Regions from separate parts of the Homo sapiens genome. Here regions 2, 3 and 4 are each linked to region 1. The links are contacts of gene promoters, found by promoter capture Hi-C in blood cells and fetal thymus (Javierre and others, 2016). All regions are on one chromosome and are shown on one strand. The core of a region is centred on a gene start or on the middle of the fragment in contact, and the rest is flanking DNA. Distances in the headings are between cores, read along the strand shown.

What was found. The method cuts DNA at HindIII sites, captures the fragments that hold promoters and counts their contacts. A CHiCAGO score of 5 or more calls a contact.
Region 2: a contact is called between a fragment that was not itself captured here and the fragment with the promoter of RPUSD4 in region 1, in 1 of 17 cell types (total CD4 T cells). The highest score is 6.7, in total CD4 T cells.
Region 3: a contact is called between a fragment that was not itself captured here and the fragment with the promoter of RPUSD4 in region 1, in 1 of 17 cell types (total B cells). The highest score is 6.8, in total B cells.
Region 4: a fragment that was not itself captured here is called in contact with the fragment with the promoter of RPUSD4 in region 1 in 4 of 17 cell types (activated CD4 T cells, neutrophils, fetal thymus and 1 more); the score reaches 7.4 in activated CD4 T cells.

What each region holds. Positions count from the first base shown.
Region 1 is chr11:126,210,120-126,216,173 of GRCh38, reverse strand. RPUSD4 (RNA pseudouridine synthase D4) reads left to right here and starts at 4,524. Exons shown (of 7, transcript NM_032795.3): 1 at 4,524-4,724; 2 at 5,119-5,284. The coding sequence starts at 4,536. FAM118B (family with sequence similarity 118 member B) reads right to left here and starts at 4,392. Exons shown (of 9, transcript NM_024556.4): 1 at 4,344-4,392. It also overlaps the pseudogene RNU4-86P. RefSeq lists an enhancer at 4,510-4,739. The HindIII fragment of the contact is 5,382 bases long and covers 3,586-6,054 here.
Region 2 is chr11:124,619,313-124,625,366 of GRCh38, reverse strand. It overlaps TBRG1 (transforming growth factor beta regulator 1), which reads right to left and starts at 2,503. Exons shown (of 9, transcript NM_032811.3): 1 at 2,134-2,503; 2 at 366-436. The coding sequence starts at 2,283. It overlaps LOC124902779 (a long non-coding RNA gene), which reads left to right and starts at 2,166. Exons shown (of 2, transcript XR_007062932.1): 1 at 2,166-6,054. It overlaps PANX3 (pannexin 3), which reads right to left. Exons shown (of 4, transcript NM_052959.3): 4 at 5,011-6,054. The coding sequence ends at 5,432. RefSeq lists an enhancer at 2,357-2,426. The HindIII fragment of the contact is 1,104 bases long and covers 2,711-3,814 here.
Region 3 is chr11:124,955,599-124,961,652 of GRCh38, reverse strand. It overlaps CCDC15 (coiled-coil domain containing 15), which reads right to left. Exons shown (of 16, transcript NM_025004.3): 3 at 2,389-2,538; 4 at 1,650-1,838. Among named protein-coding and RNA genes, the nearest start is that of CCDC15, 4.4 kb to the right of the region's middle. The HindIII fragment of the contact is 912 bases long and covers 2,483-3,394 here.
Region 4 is chr11:125,106,765-125,112,818 of GRCh38, reverse strand. TMEM218 (transmembrane protein 218) reads left to right here and starts at 1,193. Exons shown (of 5, transcript NM_001258244.2): 1 at 1,193-1,280. RefSeq lists enhancers at 599-778, 141-1,053, 1,409-1,498 and a silencer at 869-938. The HindIII fragment of the contact is 2,643 bases long and covers 1,637-4,279 here.

The DNA.
Region 1 (6,054 bases), core at 3,275-5,774:
GAACTCCTGACCTCAGGCAATCCACCTGCCTCAGCCTCCCAAAGTGCTGGGATTACAGGTATGAGCCACTGGACCTGGCCTGAGAAACTGTTTTTTAATTCCAAATCTTTTATTACTATTTGACTTTTAAACTGTATTACACAAATTACTTTTTCTTTTTTGAGATGGGTCTGTCTCTGTCACCCAGGCTGGAGTGCAGTACTGCAATCATGGTTCACTGCAGCTGCAGCCTTGAATTCCCGGGCTCAAATGATCCTCCCACCTCAGCCTCAAGGGTTAGTTAGGACCATAGGTGCGTCACCATGCCCAGCTAATTTTGTGATTTTCTGTAGAGACGAGGTCTTGCTATGTTGCCCAGGCGATCTCAAACTCCTAGGCTCAAAAGATCCTCCCCGCTAGGCCTCCCAAAGTGCTGGGATTAAGGTGTGAGCCATGCACCCCACCCCCATTTAGGACATTTTTTTTTTTTTTTTTTTTGAGACGGAGTCTCATACTTTCACCCAGGCTGGAATGCAGTGGCGCGATCTTGGCTCACTGCAAGCTCTGCCTCCTGGGTTCACGCCACTCTCCTGCCTCAGCCTCCCGAGTAGCTGGGACTACAGGTGCCTGCCACCACGCCCAGCTAATTTTTGTATTTTTAGTAGAGACAGGGTTTCACCGTGTTAGCCAGGATGCTCTCCATCTCCTGATCTCGTGATCCGCCCACCTCGGCCTCCCAAAGTGCTAGGGTTACAGGCGTAAGCCACCGCGCCTGGCCAGAAATCTTAAAAGTATATTCCAACACCACTCAATGAAGTAACCTCCAAACATAAACATTAGCTCAGTGGCAAAAAGTTAAATTCTGGGGACAAGAGCAGAATCCAGTTTCTTAGTATCAATGCTAAATGTATTCAAGATAAATCTGAAATAAATCCCACTAATTCGGGCTGAAAGAGAAGTATTTCAGTATCAGTGGAAAATCTTCATAGACTAGAAACAGAGTTGCAAAAATCTTTCAAATGACAAAAAACTGAAGCCCAAATTATTTGTTCAAGTACGCAGCGGCTGAACTGGAACTAGTCCCACATCTCCTGGCTCCCAATGACTGTACTTTCCAGGGCACCTCCCAAGAGTTCCTGCTAATTGCCTCCTTTAATCTCTCTAAAACCATAAAACAATGTCCAAGTACTTCCTGCTCTTCAAGGAAATGGAATCGCTGGTTAATCTGCAACTAGCAAATCACAGTTTGAGGAGGCGTAACTTAACTTTATACCACTAATTAACCTTAAATTTGTGATAAACGCAAGTTCCTTTATTAGTTAGTCCTTGTTTGTTTATATTTGCGAAATACTAATGCAGCCTTTTTGTTCCTGAATAGACTAGGAAATATCTTTAAAAAGAAACTATCAAGTTCTTCTTTATATGGTTACTTTAGGGGCACATATTATGATATATCAAAATCAATGTAAATAAGTCATGTTTGAACAGAGCCGTAGTCTGCAAGAATGAAGAAATCACTAATAGAATTTCCTTCCTTGTTCTAAGAAAACATTTAGACAAGAGGAGTTCCCAACAAATGGACTGTGACATTGGCGCAGAAGTGGAAAAGTGAACTGCCTAAAAAAGGACCAGCTGAATGAGGAACAGGGAGGAGGCAATATAGAGGTAAAAAAAAAAAAACAAAAAAAAAACAAAAAAAAAAAACAGAAACAAAAGAGTTTTTTGCAGTGGCAGTATTGCAGCCAATGAGGTTTATCTGAGGGGTGATTATTGCTCTTTGAAAATTGGAAAAAAAAAAAAAAAAAAGACATGACATTTGCATAAATTCTTTTTTTTTTTTTTGAGATGGAGTCTTGCTGTGTTGCCCAGACTGGAGTGCAGTGATGCGATCTCGGCTCACTGCAAGCTCCGCCTCCCGGGTTCACGCCATTCTCCCGCCTCAGCCTCCCGAGTAGCTGGGATTACAGGCGCCTGCCACCGCGCCTGGCTAATTTTTTTTTTGTATTTTTAGTAGAGACGGGGGTTTCACCATGTTAGCCAGGATGGTCTCGATCTCCTGACCTCGTGATCTGCCCGCCTCAGCCTCCCAAAGTGCTGGGATTACAGGCGTGGGCCACCGCGCCCGGCCACATAAATTCTTTATACTGAGAACAACTCTACTTTAAATCACCAAGTGCCTAGACTCACCGGAGAAACATTAAGGATGTCATAACTTATGTACCCATACTGGCTAAAGCTGCACTGTCATACCAAACAAAAACTTTGAATTCTTTAAATTTCTCTACAAAGTTTCAACAAGACAAACCTAAAAGTTCCTTCTCCAGAAAAAAGGGACCAATATTTTTATTCTTAAGTCACTAAGTGTGTGCTTTGAGTTAACCTGAAACCCTAGAGCATAAGCTCTGTGTCACTAGCAATGACATTTGAGTTGGTTCTTCATTTTGTTTCCCGCCACAGAAGGCCAACTCTGCAAGAACAGGTGTAGTTTCTTGAATGCCATAAGGTTAGGGTAGAAACAGCCTCTCCCATCCCCGACACAAAACCATAAAAGTCCTGTACCCAAAACAAGTTTTTAATTAATGTAATGATATGAATTTAAGTCCCGATGTCAAAACTTCAGGGTCCTTGGAAAATTGAGCTTCAAGTATCTAAGTAATATGTGATGTTCAAGTGAAATTAGAACCTAGGTCTGGAGCATGGAAGGTAATAATTCTTTTAGGGTGGAATTTCTCAACTTTTATAGACCTCTGTCTTACTGGTAAATTTGCAGGGGGTGGGTGGGGAACAGGAGAAACAGATGTTTCCCAATCTCCCTTGGAAATCTTTGCATTTGTATCTGGATCTGCATTTACACCTGCCTTATAAGAGAAACGTACACAAGCCTTGCTTCTTTCCCACTTTACAAATACATCTTCCTCTACCTTCATTCTTCAGGCCAAACATTGACAGAAATAAGACAATTCAAAATGTTCAGACACACCTAGCATACATTTATGATGCACTTCAGCCATCTAACAGATATCGAGTTTACTATGTGCCAGGTGAGTGGATTAAAAAAAAAAATTCTTCCAGGGACTCACAGATCAACAGCAGCTGCCAAGAGTACGCCTTGACCTGCATAACTCAATTAATTCAAACTCAAAGGAGTTACAGTGTAGGGGGAAAAGACCAGACCTCATCACTGACCACCTAGATTGTAACTAGTTTTCCTACTATCAAACCCTTTCCTTCCCCACTATCAAACCCTTTCCTTCCCCATCTGTCCTGCATTCAACTGCCAGATTCATTTCCAGAATTCCACTTTCAAGGAGTCTCTCTGCCCTACTCGAAAAGCTTCAAAGACTCCTCACTACGTATCACCTCTAGTTCAAACTCTTCAACTTGAGTCTTCTATGAGTAGCTCCACCTGATCAACTTTGTTTCTTGTTGGTACGGCTCCCTTCTGCCAAACCCTTTAGGAGGTGTAGAACCCAAATCTAATTCAACTACCTATTCTCTAATAACTCCTCAGGCAGCCTTCATTCCAAGCAGTCTTAAAAAATTGTTCCTTCTATCGTCACAGATCCATTAGTTTTCAGGACATTCTTTCTGAACTCAGCATAAGCTTTCCTCTTAACAAATGGCAGGTATATCCCAAGTTATTTTTAACACTACCATCCCAAACAGATGTTTATCTTCCCAGCCACCCCTGAGTGAAATCAGAGGGAGTCGCCTGCAGTTCGGGCAAGGGAATCCCAACATCGCATCTCGTGAGAGGAGGTATGGTGTGGTTGCAAACTATGGAGAGGAAAAATAAAGGAAACAGGAAAAGTGAAGGTCTGTGCTCCGTTCTTTCAGCTTTTTCTTTAGGAGGAGTAGGGAAGGTAGGGAGGAGACCCCCAAGAAATGAATTCTTGAGGAAGGGCAGAAAAAACACTCACAGTGCTTCCTAAGTAGGAAATAGGTGCTGGGGGCCCTGGATAAGGGAAGGGGCCGTCATCCTTAGGAGAAGGGTACAGGTTACAACGCGAAACAAAGAGGCTGGGAGTTGGAAGATGAAGGGTGGAGAGACTACAGAGATCCGGGCATCCGATCAAGAGGGTCCCCGACGCGTCCCGCAGGGGACTGGCGGATCACCGGAGATTCAGTGGCTAAGAGGGACGGCGTCGGTGCCTAGGAGGGCTCTGGGGCGAGCGTTTATGGGACATCGCTCCTAAGGGGGCGCGGGGGCGGGGAGGAGTTTTTGAGTGGGATCGTGTACCAAAAGGAGAAACGTTTCTCAGACCAGTGCTCTTCTTGAACGGAAATCCCGGGGACGCAGAAAACGTTAAACCGTTGAGGCACCGGCATTTCCCAGCCCCAGCCCGGCTTCCCTACACACTCACCGAGTCTCCTCCAAACGCCACTGCTCCAGCTGCAGCTACCGGCCGGCGCAGCCGCACTGAGCGCGCACCGTCCCCACGTGACTCGCCCAGGCCCCACCCCGCACCACGTGACCTGCAGGGCCCACCCACTCCCGCCTCATTGTAGTCGCCCTTCTCCACGTGGTCTTGGCTCGCCCCGCCCTTCCTTGTAAGATGGCGGCGCCCAGGTGGAGCGCGTCGGGCCCCTGGATCCGGGGAAACGGCCAAGGTTGCGGGAGTCTCTTCACTCTCGTCTCAAAGCCATTTTGTGCCGCTGCCGCTGCCTCTACGGCCATAAATGCCCAGAGATTAGCGGAGAAGCTCCGAGCCCAGAAACGGGAACAAGACACAAAGAAGGAGCCGGTGAGTCCAAAGGGACCAGAACTCCCTAGAGGCAGTGCGCTCATTGGTTTCCCAGACGGGGAGTAGGTAGGAGGGTCCTCTGAGTGAAAGCGTGTGAGTCAATAGCCCGGACGCAAGGTGGGAGAATGGGGAGAAGGCGGAGGGGAGGGGTCAGTAAGGGTACGGTGTTTTCCCGTGAGCTGGATCTTTGGCTACTGTCAGGCTCAGTCCTAACCACTGCGTCGGTACGCAGGTTAGACAGATGGGTATCTCTGCTCTCAAATTAGTCGAAGGCGGCGCGGGTCTGATGCAAAGATAGTCATTCCCTACTCAGATTCTCACCCAGACCTTTATGGAAGGTCTTCTCCACGGCTTCCGCACCAGGCATTCCCCACGGCTCCTTCTTTCTCCCTAGGTGTCCACAAACGCTGTTCAGCGGAGAGTGCAAGAAATAGTGCGGTTCACACGGCAGCTGCAGCGAGTCCACCCCAACGTGCTTGCTAAGGCACTGACCCGAGGAATTCTCCACCAGGACAAGAACCTTGTGGTCATCAATAAGCCCTACGGTCTCCCTGTGCATGGTAAGGACCACGCGGGAAAGGTGGAGGAACCTGCAGCTGCTTTCTGCTACAACCGAGGAAAACTGAGACGTTACTTGTGGTGCACTCTAAAGCCTTGCATTCAAATTAATTAAACTTTTGTAAACTACCGTCCAATATAAGGAACCACCGAGAACACAGAAATAAATAAATAAGACAGTCCTCCCTTTCTAAACATCTGACAGTAAGCAATTCGTAGAATACGCTGTGTGCAGACTACAGGGATCGCTGTAGAGATATACAAAGGCTGTGTGGTTCTAGACTAAAGGTTATCTTCCATCAGAACTGGGAATGAGAAAATGATACATAAGAAAAAAGGGGGTGTGTGTGTGTGTGTGTGTGTGTGTGTGTATGTATGTTGGAGTATATGTAACATACAACCCCAGAGTGACTGGAATTTAGTGGACCTTCAAATGTCTTTCAACAGATGTTGCATGTAGTTGTCAGGGACAGCTGAAGTGAATCAGGAAAGATTGATTTAAAAAATGCATTTGTGAAAGAGGGAAAAGGCCCATTTTAGCTAGAAGAAGGTAATGCTTTTTGGGGAGATACGGAGATAGTTGTTCACAAAGACAAGGAATTAAATCACATCACCAAGTGTTTGTATAATTTTTTTCTCTCTTTATTTTCGCAACAGTTTTTTGCCTTTCCATTCCCCAATGAAGTTGTTTTCCAGATATTTACATTTTATAACGAGAAAGCAAAGTTGGAAAGAGAAGTAATGTGTCCAAGGTCAAAAAAATGGCTAGTAA
Region 2 (6,054 bases), core at 2,013-4,512, 1.6 Mb after region 1:
CAGAATAGTACGTACAGAATAAATATTTGTAGAACGAGAGGCAGTTGCTTTTATCACTTGGCTTTTATAATTGGGCCATAAGATTAAATAATCTTAGTAAGATTATTTATTAGATGTGGCAAGATGGCTTTTTCAGAAAGATGAGTAGAGGAGCTGTCTCATCGCCATGGCCCAACATAACTTGGGTGTGCAGGCACCAATGCCTCAGGCTGTAAGTTTCTCTGTGCTTGATCAAGTGGCCAAGGGGCTGTGCGATACGCATCAATCCCACTGGGAAAAAAAGTCTCCAGAGCAGTAACACCATTATCAATCACCAAATCAATCACCAAAAAGGTGATGCTGAACACAAAATGAAGCCAGCTCACCTTCTTTCTTCTTTTGCTTTAAGAAATTTTTCCTCAAGACGAGCAATTTCATCACAAATAGCAGCATTTTCCTTTAAGTAAAAATGTGAATATAATAACATAAAATGAATAAAAAAATCACATTATTATGCTGGGAAGAGGATCCATATTTCAAACCAAAAAAGCTTGTATTACTGAGAAGAAGGAGCTATTCGACCGTGTGACAAACTATAAATAAATCCATAGATAAAGGTAGTCAGGTTCTACTATGGACAGGGTATAGCTATGTAATTTATTATCCAATCCGGGACATCTTTGAGTGAAAAGGGGGTACTATTAATGCTTATGCCAGAACAATACGGTGAACCAGGACTGTCCTGGGCAAGCCAAGATTAATGGTCACCCTAATTAGTATAGCCTTTGGCAAAGAAAAAGGCATACTGCTTAAATCCTTATATGCTTAAATTAAATACTATAAATATGAAAACTGTCTATTCCCAAGTGCCTCAACTCTTGAAAAACTTACAAAGCCAGTCTAACCCAAATAGAGAAAAACTGGACAGAACAAAATCAAATTTAGTGTGTAAAATTCTTAAACTTCACAATCTACTTATACGAATTCAAGTATTATCTTTTTTCTTTTTTTTTTTTTTTTTTTTGTAAATGATGACTCAATCTATCTCCCAAGCACCAATCCTGAAGGGAATGCTGAATCTGAATGCCCCCATAGGTGGAACTTCAAACTCTCAATGTTCAAAACAACATCGCTTTTTCTTCACAAAATCTTCATTATGTATTTGATGGAACCAATATCCTTGAAATAACATAAATTCCAAGCTTTAGGTACCTTTGACGTATAGGGGATAAAAGAAAGGGAACAGTCAATCAGATGCTAAGTTCTCTTAGTTTTACTTTTCTTGTTTCTCTCCAGTGCAAATAGCAAGCAATACACATAGCAAGTGCTGAATAAGTGCTTTTGGAATGTGTATTCTAATTTCTGAACCTTTCCTTATGCTTCCAAAAATGCTGAGAGACGTTCAAGCTTTTGGTAGAGAGAAGAGATGAACTGTTGACTTGGATGTGGGGGGACATTTGAGGACTCCACCCCTATTTCCAAGCACTGAGGCAAGCCAAACTATTCTAATATAAAGTTATGGCTGGCAAGCTATATTAAGTTTATTCACTCAATAAATCCAGTGCTTCTACAATAAAAGAAAGGAAGAAACACTTGGAACACTCAAAGGTTAGAGGGGGGAAATTACTGACAGTTTCATGTACCTCTTTGGGCAAAGGGTCAGTTATGGGGATTTGAGGTGCTCAGAAAATAGTCTGTGTACTGGAAGTCATAAAACGGAATCAGGTTTATCTAAGTTGGAGTCAGGGCTCTGACACAGTACCCTTGGGCAAATCATCTCTCTGGGCTTCAGTGTTCTCATTTTACAAATAATGCCTAATTCTCAGGGCTGTATCTCGAGAATCAAACACATTTCCTAGAGTCCTGCAGTAACAACGATGACTAAAATTTATTGGTATGTCTTTTACGCACCAAGCACTTTTCTTTACTCATTTAATATTCATTATTCTGCAAGACAGTTACTAGCTCATTTACAGATGAGGACACAGAGAAATTACGTAATTTGTCCAAGGACACAAGGCTAACAAGTAGTAACGTATACGGAAAAGCCAACACTGTATTAATACTGTCACACTGGGAAGGGGGAACAGCTTGGGGAAAGATTTTGTGAGGGAGTCTCCAGGAGGGGACCGGCTGAACGTGGGTCAGACTCACAAACACCGTGGCCTTGGCCGCTTTGCGCAGCCGCAGGTACTTCAGCCGGTACTTCTCATTCTGGCTCTTCTTCGGGAGCTTTTTCATCCTGGCCTTGCTGGACTGCAGCGGAGCCCGCGGCGAGGAAGCGAGGCCGTCCAGCAGGCTCATGGTCCAGCCCCGCTACGGGGGCCCCAGGACGCTGCCGGCATCGGATCCTAAGTCGGGGAGCGGGCGGGAGCGCTGGCTTTGTCTGTTCCGGGCTAGCGGAATCGGGCCTCTAGGAATCTAGCTCTCCGGGACGTTCCCAGGGCTGACCGCAGGGCCAGAGACACCCGCAACCGAACGGGCTCCCGGCGCCTCCCAGCACTTCCGTGTCTGTCTTGGAAGTAAGCCCTTCCCGGAAGTTACGTCCCGGTGTCGGCAGTGTGTAACTTCCGGGGCAGGGAGAGTAGGGTGGTCTGGGCGGTGCGATCGTGGGCACCGGGAGGAAAGAGACAGCTGGGGGCTAGTGCTGGATGAGGAGAGGAGGGAGGGCCGGCGGCCGTGTGCTTAGCTGAAGGGTACTATAGTTGAACCAACGAACTAACAAGAAGCTTACCAATGCGAGCTCTCATTCACGCTCCCCCGCTGGGCCACTGCGTTTTAATACGTTTTTCATGCTTCGTGCAGACAGGCTTTCCCAGACTGTAGGACAAAGTGAGCCCAAGTGCTGGGACTCTGCTTCTTTCCCTGCTTCGTTCCTTTCTGCAGCTCACAGAAATGTGTTTGCAGGGCCTCCTAATGCTATCATCTTCCCAGGAGCTGGGAACACAGTAGTGAACAGGAAGAAAGGCCTTGGCTCTTTCTAGTAGGGAAGATGAGAGATTTAACACGCAGTTTTAATACTAGCACTAAGTAGGCACTCAGTAAATGTTTGTCTAGTGAAACCAGAAGTGTATTTCTGTACATAATATGTACATGTATATGGTTCTAACTTTACAACCAAGGTCTATTTAAAATTAGGGAAGATAGAAAAATCTTTAGGGTGCGGTATTGGTAAGTGACCCAGGCTGGATGGCAGAAGGCTTGCTTGCATCTTCTTCCAGCGATGCCAATAACTAGTTCAGTAACTCTCTAGTTTTTTCTCTCAAAAAAAAAATTTGCTGTTCTGCTGTATTTTGTCCTTGCGGGCTTTGGGGTCTGACTTTATTTGTATTATTTATTTTCATATACATGTATCACATCTAGGGGGAAGAAAAGTGCTATCCTTTGTCCTAGTTTGCAGGCTGTTTTGGCCAATGGACTTTAGTGGGATTTGCATGAAGATATTTTTTGTTTCTTCTTCATTGGACACATTTCCTTACACTTACAAAACATTTCATTCGAACTTTAGAAATTTAGAAAATATAGTACAAGAAAGGTTTAAAAATCCATAATGCTACCACTTGGAATGAACTACTTTTACCATGTTAGTATATGTGTCTAATATTTTATGCATTTTTGTATAGGTTAGACAATACTGAAAATAAAGTTTTCTTTTTGTTCATTTACCATTGTATCATTTCAGTTTCACAAATGTTAGTATAGCTTCCTTATAAGCATAATTTTAAGTGGCTGGTTAATATTCCAGTTATGGCTATATTATATTTTGCATAATTATTTCCATGTTCTTTGACTTTTTGGTCAATTCCATTAAAAGCATATCTTTGCGTCCAAAGCTTTTTCCATATAGGACTGTTCAGAGGCTGGATATGTGTGCTCCACAAAGGTCATGCCACTGAGCAACTCATTCAGTCCTTATTTGTTTAGAAGAATATTTACCTAGTGCCTATTATGATACCACCTTTAAGAACCTTAATTTAAGAAGGAAAGACAGACAAGTAAATTGGCAATGTTAATATGGTATAATAAGTTTGTTTCAGAGGTAGGTTTTATTTTATTTGGCAGCACTCAGGGAAGGAGGGAGGAGATAGGAAAGGTTTCTTAAAGGAGATACATCTGGGCAGACTCTGAAGGAGAGGTAGTGGTTGGTTGGCCCAGTGAAGAACAAAGGGGGGCATGCTGGATGGTGGAGACAGCATATGCAAAGGCTCAGTATGGGAACTGCAAGTAGTTGATCAGTGTGAAAGATGTGTGTAGAGAGAAGCAAGAAGAGAGACTGAAGCAGTAAGTAGGGTTTTTTGGGTCATGAAAAGTCTTGTGTACCAACTGAAGAGTTGGACTTTGACCCAGTGACAATAGGAAACCATCTATCAGCTCTTTGCTTGTGTTAGGTAAACTTACCTGAATCTGTCAGAAGCAACACAACTTTTCTACTTAACTATACGAAGAAGGGTCTAAATGGCCTATGCAAAAATTCTTTAAAGAAATGCATAATGTGTAGCTCTAAAAAGAAATATAAAATGGCAGACAGCATGATATTGTGTCTGAGTGTGGTCTTTGAAGTCAGACCAAAGTTCCATTAACTACAGGCATAGGAATGGGAGTTAGAAGCTAAAATAGGGTAATAAATCAGAAGAGAAAGAAGTTCAATAGCACTTTACTGTCTACCCATTTGTAAGTGCTTGCTATTCAGTGATTAGCTGTAAGGGAAGGCATAGTATCCTCTGGAGTATTAAAAGCATACCTGGCTCCGTTAACAGTTGTGAAGAAGTCCATAGCCCATAATCCCAGCCCCTGGTGAAATGAGTTCCTGGTTTAGATGGTGAAAAGTGTATCTGGGCACCTGAAGGCTCCACTCACGGCTGAGACATGGCCCCAGCCTTGTTCTACTATGTCCTTACATCCTAAGAGCAGATTACAAATTGAAGCCATCATCTCCCAGCACTTTGGAGGCTACAGAGGACTTGGACAAGGTTGATAACTTCTACAAAGCAAGCTGGGTAAATTCCTAGGATTTCAGGCCACACCAAAGGGTTTCCAGGGGTTTACATCTTTATTAATCTTTTGCCAGATTGCCTCACTTGCTCTCTGGGGTAAGCTGAATGTGCGTTCAAGAAAGGATATGGAATTGCCTCCATAAACGGACTTTAGAATCTTCTTTCCTTGCAGCATGTCTAGACTGTATTTCTTTTTATTTATACTATCCTCATAGAATGTTCTAGACTTAATTTTTTAGCTCTTTGACTCTTCGGCTCCAGCTTTCACATTTATTTCCATGTCTTGGTTATGTCTTCTCACTTTTAGGATAACATGATAAAAGATATATGATTCAGTTAAATCCAAGCTTAGCAGTTTTAAAATGTGTAATTTTTTGGTGTGTATGTGTATTAGTGTGCATGTCTTATGAGGAAGGAGAGAGACTTTCCACAAGCTTTCTTGCTCCATGGTTTCTTAACTATGGGTGTTCATCACATGCCGAGTTGGTGAGGTGTTTGGGTTTTGAGGGTTCTAAGCCAGCCAATAAAGTCATAAAATCAACTACTGTGTCAATATTGTGCTTCTGGGTGGTTGTATCCTTCAACACACATAAGACACTCAGCCAGCTAAAAGAGATGAGCTCAGAGATGTTAGCTCGGAGGAAAAGAAGGATCACATTGAGGTCATTGATGGGACATCCTAGCATCTTTCTGCTGAGGAGATCAAAAGCTGGGAGCATCTCATAGACAGATAAAAGTCGTTTGTCCCACCGACATAGCCGTGTGAGGTTGTATATTATCACTGGAACCAATATGGTGTATATTGCTACACTGGAGAGGCTAACAATCTGGAAAATGGACAGTGATGTCAGCCTGCATGTGATCAGATTGGGGACATGGGTCTCATCACTTAGCAGCCCTGTCTTGATGGAGCAGCTGAATTCTTCCTGGAAGAAGACATCCAGATGGAAATGACCAAGGTATAGGTAAGTGGCGGAGGTGAAGATGAGCAAGAGGGAGTTCCTCAGGAGGTAGGTAGCCACTAGCGAATGTGAACGCTGCTTACATGCCAGGTACCGCTCTAGCAAAGGGAATTCAAAGT
Region 3 (6,054 bases), core at 1,689-4,188, 1.3 Mb after region 1:
GGAGGCTGAGGCAGGAGAATCAGGAGATTCTCTTGAACTCAGGAGGAGGAGGTTGCAGTGAGCCAGGACTGCACCACTGCACTACAGCATGGGCAACAGAGTGAGACTCCGTCTCTAAGAAAAACAAATTCTCTTGAATTTACCAATACAAAATGTGTAGTTCAAGTCTATCTCTCCCATGAATTCTTCCCCTACTGTTTCCTTAAAAATTTCTGAACTCCCATAGCACAACTTTATTGCAAAACACAGAAAATCTCTCTATATTATTATCTGATACAATGAGTGGTCTATTAGTTTTGTATTTCTACCTGAAAATATAAACCCATGGAAGGTCCTATTTTACATTTCCTTAGTATCGCTACAATCCATAACAAACAGCATAGGCAAATACTGCTGACTGATGAGTTCTATTTTTGTATTAAACAGATGAAGTAAAATCCTCACTACAGTGGGACTAACAGCTACAAGCACCACGAAAGCAAGGACTGTGTCTGTCTTAAGTCAATGTTCTATTCCTTGTACTTTATGCAGTGCCTGGCTCAATAAATATTTGCTAAACAAATAAAAATGATTATTACAAACTGAACAATGACAAGAAAGAGTCAAATAGTTGTGGACAAAGAAAAAAATTTTAATAGTAGTTCAACATGATAATGTGTGCTTCTAAACTTTTCCTATTTATACTAATAGCACAATTAAATTTTGACCAAGTATGTTAAGCAGTAATACAGCTTTTATTTTCACATACTCATAATTTTCCATATTTTCTCTCTTCCTCTCATTATTTCTAGTAATACATTTTAAATAAGATGAAGAACAATTACTGAAGCAGAGTTGAAGACTGTATCAACTGGACAAAAGCTCAGGTATACTAAGGTGGGGGCTAAATGGACAGAGTCAAGCAATGTGAATGGATGAAATCTACTCACAGTGGTTAATTTTTAAATATTAGGTATATAAAATGAGTCATTAAATAAAAATTACATTTTTCCAAAAACTCTGGATATGTTACGAATTTACTATGTATTATTCTTTAACCTACAACTATAGATTCATTTATTGTGATAATCAGATTAAAAAACAAAAATAAGAAAAATGAGACAAAGATAAATAATAAATGAAATGCCACCTATGTATACTGAACTTCTTTGCAACGAAGGTAAGAATTATTTCTCTCTGTAAATTACAAACTAATAGTAGCTTGCCTAGAATATAATTTCAATATAACTTGGAAAATCCATGTTCTTGACCTAAAGTGCTTTCTAATAGGTTTTGAATTCTAGCACTTTGGCACTTTTCTTTTTTTTTTTTTTTTTTTTTTTTTTTTTTGAGACGGAGTCTCGCTGTCGCCCAGGCTGGAGTGCAGTGGCGCAATCTCGGCTCACTGCAGGCTCCGCGGCACTTTTCTTTAGATAATTTTAGAGTATCTTACCAAACACAAATGAATTTAAATTTAAAATTTTTAAAAAGCATTATCCCACTATTCCCCACTTTACAAAGCTAAAAAAAAAAAAAAAGGGGGATGATTATCAAAAGTGAAGCTGAGTGTGATAACTCTTAATCCCTACCTCATACCCTAGATGTCATATTTATAGTTTAGGGGATAGGGAAAATATCATAGACATAAAATAAAAAGAACAGGTACTTACAGCCTGGGCTTGTTGTTGGAATAATTCGTTCTGATTCTCTTCATCCTCTATTCCATCCCCAGGCATCAGGGAAGGAGGTAACCTAGAACTTCCAATAGCAACATTCAAATTGTTTGGAAAAACACTTGTCCTTTTGGAAGTTAAGTGTGTTGCTGAAGACTGCATGGCTATGGAGCCTTCTTTTTGTGCCTACACGAAAGAAGAAAGGGGGATAGTAACATTCTACCCCAATCCAGAGCAATCAAATAATGCCTCTAAAGCAGTTCAGAAGATTTTAAATTGGGGTGGGGGGCAGGGGAGAGGCTTTAGCTGGCAGAGAAACTAACATTTACCAGGCACCTCCCATGTGCTAATAATTTAGGTTATCTCATCTAACTCTCACACAATCCTATGAGAGAAGTATCATATCCTTATTTTATGGATGAAGAAACTACAATCAGTGAAGTTAAGTAATTAGCCAAAAGTCAATAGCTAGAAGTAGCAAAGCCAAAATTCAAACTCAAGTCTGAACCCAAAATTCTGACATTGCTTTTAACTACTTGGTAAAAGCAAAAAATTGAGTCAGAACACAGGAATAAAACATGGTTTCTCTACAAAAAAAATTTACTGTCTTCACTAGTTAATTAGATTATATTAGGCATGTAATCAAAGGAAAGCAATTCTGTTACTGCCTAATAGCTTATCTCATAACACACATATTTTCCATTCAATCTTTACTCAGGCTCACTTTTGAACTTACTCTTTCATAAGACTTCTGAAGCTGTTGCTTTTTTCTCAACCTAATTTGTTGATTTACTCGGTATTTAACTTGTTTCTGAAAATGTTTCAAAGCTTCTTGTTTTTTTCTTAGCTGTTCCTTTAGTTCTTCTTCAATTAAATATGCTGATGTCTTTAAAGATGAAAGACAGAAAATGAACTTAAATGTTAGCAGTTTTGTCCATTAGGGCTGTTTTAAACACAAAACAGTCAGGATAAGGATACAATCCTGAAAAAAATAATTCCATTCTGTACAAAAAAAAATGGAATGTATGAGTATCAAATCTTAAATTTTTTATTGAATTAGAACTAACGATGTCTTCATTAAATCTTAATGAACCAAATAAAACCTAACACGTTACACATTTTCTAAAATGGAGTAAATAGTCAAGACACACCAGGTTACTTACCACTCACCAAATATGTCCTATTGTTAAAATGTCTTCATATTTGGCATTATGCTCCATTTTTAACCTGGCATGCCCTTCCTTTCATCTCCACCTAGTAAAGGCCTATTCAGTTTTCACAACCATTTAATACCCACTCCCCAGTACCTTCCACAACACTCTCTCTCTAAGCCCTCTTATGCTATAACACCTCTCATTTCACCAATGTTAACTGAGTATAGTACTTCTTGACTCCCCTACTAGATTATGAACTCTTTGAGGACAGGATATGTATTCAATTCTCCTTTATTTCCCCTACGGCATCTAGTACAGAGCCTTCACTATAAGGGTAGTCAATATATATTTATATAATTGCTCAATTCCAAAACATATTCTAAACCAGGGGTGTCCAATATTTTGGCTTCCCTGGGCCATGTTGGAAGAACTGTCACATAAAATACATTAACACTAGTAGCTGATGAGAAAAAAAAAAATCACAAAAAAACTCATAGTGTTAATTAAGAAAATTTATTAATTTACATTGGGTCGCATTCAAAGCCATCCTGGGCCACATGTGGCCCATGGCCGCATGTTGGACAAGCTTGTTCTGAACAATCTGGAACACTTTATCCCATTTGAGTTCTTGATCTGCATTTATCTCCTCTAAGTGCTTTGAATAATAATCATAGTCATCATCATAACAGCACTTATCATTATTATGGATCTATCAGGTGACAAGTATTTTAACTACTTTGTAGCACTCTATCCTCAAAACCACCTTTGGCAGTAGGTATTCTTATCCCTTATGTTACAGATGAGGAAGCTGGAGTTCAGAAAGATTAAGTAATTTTAATATAGCTAACTAGTAGCAGAATTAGAAGTTTCTGACTCCAACAATTATGTTCCTCTCTACACTGCTTTTCTCTTGACTATGTCTCTCTTTCACTAGGAATTTTCAAATTAAATAAAATCATCATCATATCTCGTACCTATTCCTTCTAACTCAGTGATTCCAACTTCTAATTCTGAAGGGTACCTCAGATCATTTTACAGGCTGTCATTAAATTCTCAAAATCAAATGCATTCAAATTTCAATTTAAGTTAAAATTTCCAAGATGTCTATCCCATAAACTACTCTAGTGGAGTGTACAAGTGTCAAAGAACAATTAGGTAAAATAATTCCAACGGAGAGATATATACGTAATGAAGCCTGAACAACTGACCCAGCTTAACTCAAGCCCCAGACAAGTTTAAGCCATTCGGCCTCTTTCTTTTACCTCCATTTTCTCTGCTCCTCTTTTACTCCACAAGATTACAAGCCAGGTCATAAAGAAACTTCCACCTCTGTTCTTAGAGTGCTCATTCTGAAGGAAGTCAGCACCATATAAAAATTCAGACTACCCTGAGATTACCATGCTGTGAGGAAGCCCAAGTTAGTCAAACAGAGAAGCCATGTGAAAAGAGAAACATATCTAACCAGCACCCAGACATTCTAGTCATCCTAGGCCAAGCGTCAGATATGTGAATAAGAAAGCCATCTTGGACATTACAGCCCAGCAGGTGCCACATTACTGGGAGAACTTGACTATTGTCTAGCTCCAGCCAATAGCCGGAAAATAGTCAAGGTGTCTCAGACATGTCCAGTTATTTGAGCCCCAGCTGAGGTCCCAGACACTATGGGGCAGAAACAAGCCATTACCACTGTACCCTGCTCAAATTCCTGTTACATAGTATTATTTGCTTTATACCACTAAGTTCTGGGGTGGTTGGTTACACAGCAAAAGGTAACCAGAACAAATTATAAAATAATGCAATCCCATATATGATGATAGAACAGCAGTGTCTTTTGATGCTAATTTATTAATAATTATTGGGGGGAGGTAGTCTAAAGCTATGACATTTTTAGGAATCCTGATGGCCCCCTGAAATTTTGGGGAGAAAAATGAGTAGAAGTTCCCCTTTAGAACAGACATGATCTAAGGGCCAAGCTTTAGAAGTAACTATTCAGCATTTATTTTGAGCTGACAGAGCTATATCCGTTAATAAGGGTGGATACCCAGACTAGATATGCTAAAGCTATAAGGAGTTCTATTAGATGCTTGATCAAACTCCCTTTGGCTGGAACTGATCAGAAATTTTTAAATCAGGAAAAGGAGATATGTTTATCCATGTTCCAAGACTTTAATATTTTGAGTTAATGTGTGTGAATACGATAGTCAATACTTCTTAACATAGAAAAAGTTTGATGGTGTCAAATTTTAGGCATGTTGACACTACTGATATTATACAGATGTAATTTGAGCAATTACAAAGAGGTGTCAACAACTTAAATACCAAAATATCTTTATACCAAATCTTACCAAGTCTTGTGGGGTGTTTCCTGCATTCATCCCTTCTCATTCCACTCCTTTTTTTTTTCCAGAGATGGGGTCTCACTCTATTGCCCAGGCTAGAGTGCAGTAGTATGATCATAGTTCACTGCAGCCTACAATTCGTGGGCTCAAGCACTTCAATCATCCTTTTTCAAGGCTGTTCTTCTCTATTTCTTACCACTAACAAAGTTTCGATGCTATACTCCATGCTTAAATTATTATAATTATATTCTAATTTATCCCCAGGATCCAATCACTCCCTATCCTTCAAAACCTTTGAAGCAATTCATCTAAAGAAAACACTGGTTGATCATGACATTCACCTGTAAATATTAAACAAAGTCAATCCCTTCTCCAAAATTTCCTAAGGTACTCTACCATCCCTATTTTCCATAATCCTGTCAGCAACCATTCTCCTACTAAGCTTTCCACTCCAATCGATCTAATCTACCCTTAGAATCCTGAACCTTGCTTACTTCTTACTCTCCTCATTCTCCTTAATAGGAGAATCATTCCCTTCCCTTCTCCGATCAAATTCTTCATTACACTTTCCTGGGTCACATCAACCCAACGTCATAGCTTCTTGATTGAGCATTATATTCTTAGAACTTAGATAGAGATACCACCTAGACTCTTAAAATCCTTTTTGGAAATAGGCAGGGTAGGAATAAATCAATGAATATACATACATATGTGCAAACATAAATAAAATGAATATAGTATATTGCATTACTTTAACATTTAAACACATCTCATTTCTCTTCTGAGATCAAGTACACTGAGGGAACATATCTCATCCTTTTTTCATCCATGTTCAGCACCTTGTCTACACATACAGAAGACATTTTGTGCCTTTCATAAATACTTCATGAGTGTCTATATTGATTAGGC
Region 4 (6,054 bases), core at 1,709-4,208, 1.1 Mb after region 1:
TCATTGGTTACTTTATGTGATTGTAAATGAAGCCTCGAAAGTTGAATAAATTTGAGACGTGCAGTTGATGAAATTCAAGCATCTTCTTCTTTTTGGTTCATAAAGCTGTGATTCAGGAGAATTCCTTAAATCAGAGATTCAGTGCTCTAAGATTGAATAGGTTGCTTCATGATATTTCTTAAAATTTTGTTTAAGGTCAAAGGTTCAAACGGTGCAGCTCTCCAATTTGGTATTGATTATTGTTTGTTTCCCCTTCTTGATTCAGTGGTGGAGCACGCAGCCTCTGTCCTACTTCCTTTGGTTGTCCTGATTGATGCATCTTTTGGTCTAACAGGCCATAGCCTCAAAGCAAAGTCATGGCAAGCTTTAGTTGGCAGTTAGGTAACAGCAGTCTGCCAATAGCGTGGGCCAGCTCCAGTTCCAGCAGCCTGGCGGCAGAGGGTTTACTTGATGGACCCTGGGCCTCTTCCCCAGTCTGTCCCGTGGGTAGAATGATCTTTGCCTTTGTCTGTTTCGCAAGGCTAATGGAAGAATTAAATACCAAATAAAACAAGTCGAGATAAAGATAAATGAAGCGTGCCGTTATTACAACTGGTGCTTCGTCCTCAGTTCCCTCCAGGAGGGTTGTTGGGGACACTTAATGACCGGGCCTGAGCTGACTTGTCCACCACATCTTGCGCCCCACTCGAGCTAGTGGGTTGGGGATTGAGATGTTCATCAGGCCCCGGAAAAGGCATTGATGTCTAGATGACTGTGCAGTTCTCTGGAGTTCGAGATCTGAGCTGCCTGGCCCTGCTGCTTCGCTGCCTGGATGGGCAATCTCTATGGTGACAGCGAGTGAGGCCGGAAGAAGTCTCTCTCTTCCGCCCAACAACCCGCCCTCAGGCTAGACTGACCAATGGCCCAATGAGTTACGGAGAGATGGTGTGATTGACAGTGGAGTGGCGGGGGGGCGGGGAGTGCAGCTCGGACCGCTGCTACCCAACCGAACTGAGGTCGGTCCAAAGGCTGACAGGCACCGACCAATCGGAGGGCGTAACGAAGGGTGACGAGCCAACCCACCGCGCTCGGCGTTGCCGGGAGCCGCGCTAGGCGTAAGCTAATGAGGAAGAAGTTGGCCGTTGAAAGAGCAACGCTGATTAGTGAATCTTAAATCACCTAAATGAAAGCCCACTTGTGATTCGCCCTAAGTAAACCAGAGCCCCGTGGGCTGGAACGCGCCGGAATCTGAGGTGTGAGTAGAGCCTGGGGGAGAGTGGATCCAGGTGAAGGGGGCAGAGGTGAGGAAAGCGGGGCGGCTGCGGGGAAGGGAGAAAAGTGGAGGGTCGGGCTGAGGTGGTTGGAAGAAGGCGTGGGCGGACGGCGGTGCACGGACCTCGCAGACCACCCTTACCGCTGATCTGGACCCAAGGCCCGGCTAATAAATACTTAATTGGAGGCAGAGAAGGAAGGACTGTTTTGTTTCATGCTCTTAAGAAAAGGAAGTGTCAGTGCCTGATTCAGATCTCTTATGACCGAGACCTTAATCCCTCTCTAGCTCCTGGGAGGTGGCCAGGTGCACATTCTGAAGACGAGACATGGGGGGCATTGTTTTCCTGTCGCCAGTTTGAATCTGCAACAGGGTTGGGGAGAAGCTTAGAGTTCAAGTGGGGTGTTCCCAGGCTGCAGTGCTGTGAGATCCAGAGAGCGGATAGACCGAGGCTCTGCAGCGCTTCCAACCCACAACACCGTCCAGGAGAGGGATGCAAGGAAGAGACCTAGGTTTACTGATCCTCCTTTTTCTATCAACGTGTTAAGAGCAGATGCTACATCGGTGGCATTTTGGGAGCTTGGCAACTGATTTTTTCCCCAGGCTTGCATTTTATCTAATTACAAAGGTAGAGGCGTTATTCTAATATTTTAAAATTCAAAAGATAGTGAAGTGTTTAAAGTAGAAACATAAAAGTGTGAAAGTAACCCCCCCCCCCCGTTATTTTTGAAGGTTTGGAAAACAGCTATAAAGCAAAGTGAAAAGGACTCTTCCAGAGGAGCACTTCACTCCTTGTAACCCACTGTTTTCTGTTGCTTTCAAGGGCTTGAGTCAGTGTGAAAATCGGGGGATGGGTGAGATATCTCCCTCCAGCAGCAGCACTTAGGCCACATTACCCTCTGAGGAATCCACATTTGTCTTAGATAGTAAGTCATCTTATAAGTCATCTTATAATGGCAGTTAGTATTCTCGCTCATGATGATCAACCTGGTGATGAGTACCGTATTTTTAATCCATTAGGTTACCTGTGCAGGGATCAGTCCATTTATTCCTATTTTCTCTGACAGCTGGATGAAAGGGTATGTAGAAACAACCATTAAATGAACACACACATCTAAAAGGTTTTGAACAAACTCTCTCAGAGAAAAACCTCACAGCATTGAGCACAGAAGGAAAACATTAGCCCTGTAGTTGCTTTTGTTGTCAGCTGCTGAACTGTTCAAATTTAAATTATTTTTTTTCACTCCAGTCTACCTGCTTTAAATGCCACAGATATTAAGTAAATGGACTTACCCTTGAAATCGGGTTGGCCAAGCCATCACTTCTCAAAGAAGGTTTAATGATGGCATGAACCCGTTTTTATATTTTATTGTATTGTACTCAATAACAATAATTTAGCTATTCTAATATGGGAAATTATCACAGATATTATTCTCACATTTAAATAAGATAAAAATGACTAGATGTTCTCTCTTCCTCTATAGCAGCACTCTATACTATACCCAGCCCTTCTTTTCTATGCTTAGTAAGAAAATGTATAGTTTGCTTATAAAATTATGAGCTCCATTCTTAAAAGAGCTTGGGAATATTTATCTTATTACTTTAAAGCCATACCATATATAAATCCAATGTCTCACGAACTCTTAAGCTACTAAGGGGGATTGAAGGGCAACATTTCTAATGGCGCCAGCCAGCTTCAACTACCATTTGCCCTCTATTCTAACTGTTAGAGTTGGTCCAAGTCTTCTGGGTTATTTGTGTAATATCCAGAATAGCACAAATTAAATTTAAATAGTTGTTTTCTTAAGAGCAGTACCATCAGCTCAGTCAACTAAGCTAGAAACTTGTGTCATTTCTAACACCTTCTCCCTTGACACAGCTAAGACTGGAGGTCAGACCCTCATCATCTCTTATCTGGAGAATTGCAATAGTTTCCTAACTGGTCACCCAATTCATATGCATCCTGCTGCCCATTACCTTTTTAAAAATTAAAAATTATCACGAAAAATTTAAAAACAGAAAATAGTACATTGGGTAGTATAATATCTATGTTCCACCAATCAGATTAATAAATATTAACATTTTGGCACACCAGCTCAAGTTTTTTATTTTAAAGAAATAAAACATCACAGATTTAGTTCAGATCCCTTTTATTTCCACTCCTAACCCCATTCCCTTTCCTTCCTCCCTCTGCAGAGGCAAATAGTCTTTTGAAATTGTCATGTATTGTTTATGCCCATGTTTTTATACTTTTGCTGTATATACGTTCGTCAGAAACAATATATATTACTGTTTAGATTGTATTTAATTTTAAAAATACAAGTAGTATCATACTGTGGGTTCCATTTTGCAACTTGTTTTTGTCACTCAACATTGTTTTTGAGATATATTCACATCAATACATATAGATCAATTTCATTCATTTTAAGTATTCATTATGAATATATAATATTGTATCTGTTCCCTGATTGATGGACATTTAGGTTTTTTCCTGATGTTTTGCTATTGTAAACAAAGCTGCAATAAACACCTTGTACATGTCTCTTTATGCAAGACTGTGTCTAGAACAGTGGTTCCCCAAGAAGATGTTGCTGCCCGTTTTAGGGTGTTTTGGAATTTGTGAAGATGTATTTTGTTATTCTTTGATTGGAGGCACTACTGGGGTTTACAGATCAGGACTGCGGATACTGGATGTTCTGTAATGTATGGGACAGTCCTCACAACGAAGAATTGTCCTGCATCCTGTGCAAATTTTGAGTATCCCACAGGATACTCATTTATAATTATCTGAGTGTAGAGCCTAACTCCGGTTTTTGTATAAACATAATGTATTTTTTGGCACAGTTTAATATAGTAAAATTTCCAGGAATGCAACTCTAATGTAAATCAGAGGAAAATTATACTTATTTGTGGTTTGGAACTTTAACAAGAGTTGTTCATCACTCTAGCAAATCACATAACTGAAGGCAGCACAGCTCGTGGTATTTGAGTTGCCAGAACAACACACCTGCATAGTCTGCATTTGAAGCTTTTGCATTCATGGTGATTCTAAGTTTAGGTGCAAGCATCTGACTACTGTACTTCATTATGTATTCTAGTGTAGTCAGCCTGAACATTTGTATATTTAAACATATGCTATTTCATTACGAATTACTTTCCATTTAAAATCAACTTCTGTATATCATATAGAGATCTAGTTTTATTCTTTTCCTATTGGAGAATCATTTGTCCCAACACTATCTATGAAGTTCTTTACCCATTGAATCATAAAGCCAACTCTGTGCTGTAGGAAGTTCTCACAAATGCATGGATCTGTTTCTGGGTTCTTGATTTTATACCACTGGGCCATGTGTCTTTGTGCCACTATCACACTGTTTTAATTACTTTGGTTTTTCAATGTGTCTTGCGGCAGTTGGTAACAAGAAAGGCAAGTTGCCATCCTAGTTCTCAAAATTGTTTTGGCTATTCTTGGGTTTTTGCTCTTCCATATGAATTTAGGATCCGTTTTCAAGTTCCACAAAAAATTGTTTTTAGACTTTGGTTAGGATTGCATTGAATTTATAGGTTAAGGAAAATTGAGATTTTTTTAATTGAACCATCCCATCCGGGAACACAGGTTATTTCTCTGTTCAGGTCTGCTTTATTTCTTTATTCAGGTCCTCTCTCTCTCTTTTTTTTTTTTTTGTCTTTGATAAAGTTTTATAATTTTAGCTATACAAATCTTACTCATCTTTTATATTCATATTTATGCAGATATATATATATATATACACACATATCCACATCTTTTTATTATGAAAGTTTAAAATATATTCAGAAATATAGAAAATAGGCTAGCAAACATCTACACACTCATCACCCAGCTTCAACAACTAGCTCATGACCAGTCTTGTTTCATGTCAGCCCCTTCACCTCCTCTCACTGAGGTAATAGAAAGCTCCTAGAAACCCTTTTCTGTTATCTGTAATGTGCTACGTGTGTATGCATATATCTTTATCATAAATAATCTTTTAACAATATAATAATATCATCTTTTTAATAGTGTTTTTTCACTGAAAATACAAACAGTAATTTCATAATATTATCAAATATCTGAATATTCTTCAGATTTCCCCAATCATTTCATAAAAGGTTTTTGCAATGCTTCGTTCGAATCAGGACCAAATAAGGGTCCATATACTACACATGGCTGATACATCTCTTAATATTCTTTCTGTAAACATTTTAGTGAAGGGTAATACACATACAGAAAAGTATATAAATCCTAAGTGCATGGTTAGATACAACATCACCGTATGAACAAACCCAGGTGAACAAAACCCAGATCAAGAAACAGAATTTTATCAGCATCTCCCTGAACCTCCTACAGTCACTATGTTTCACAAGCCAACCATACGCCTGACCTCCAGCCCCTAAAATTAGTTTGACCTGTTTTGAACATTATATAAATGGACTCATATACTATGAACTCTTTAGCCTCTAGCTTTTTTCATTTAATATTTGTGAAATTCATCCACATTGTTGAGTATAGTTGTAGTGTGTTCTTTCTCATTGCTTTATACTATTCTCATTGCTTTATACTACATAATGCTTTATATACTGTATGAATGAATAGATTGTAGAGTACTATATCCACTCTATTGGCAGATATTTGGATTGTTTAAGGTTTTAGCTATTTCAGGTAGGGCTGCAATGTCTTTTTTTTGAATTTAGGTGTGCGTTTCTGTTGGGAATACACCTAAGAATAGAAGAGCTGGATGTAGGATGCATTTATATTTAGCTTTATTAGATACTGCCAATAGTCT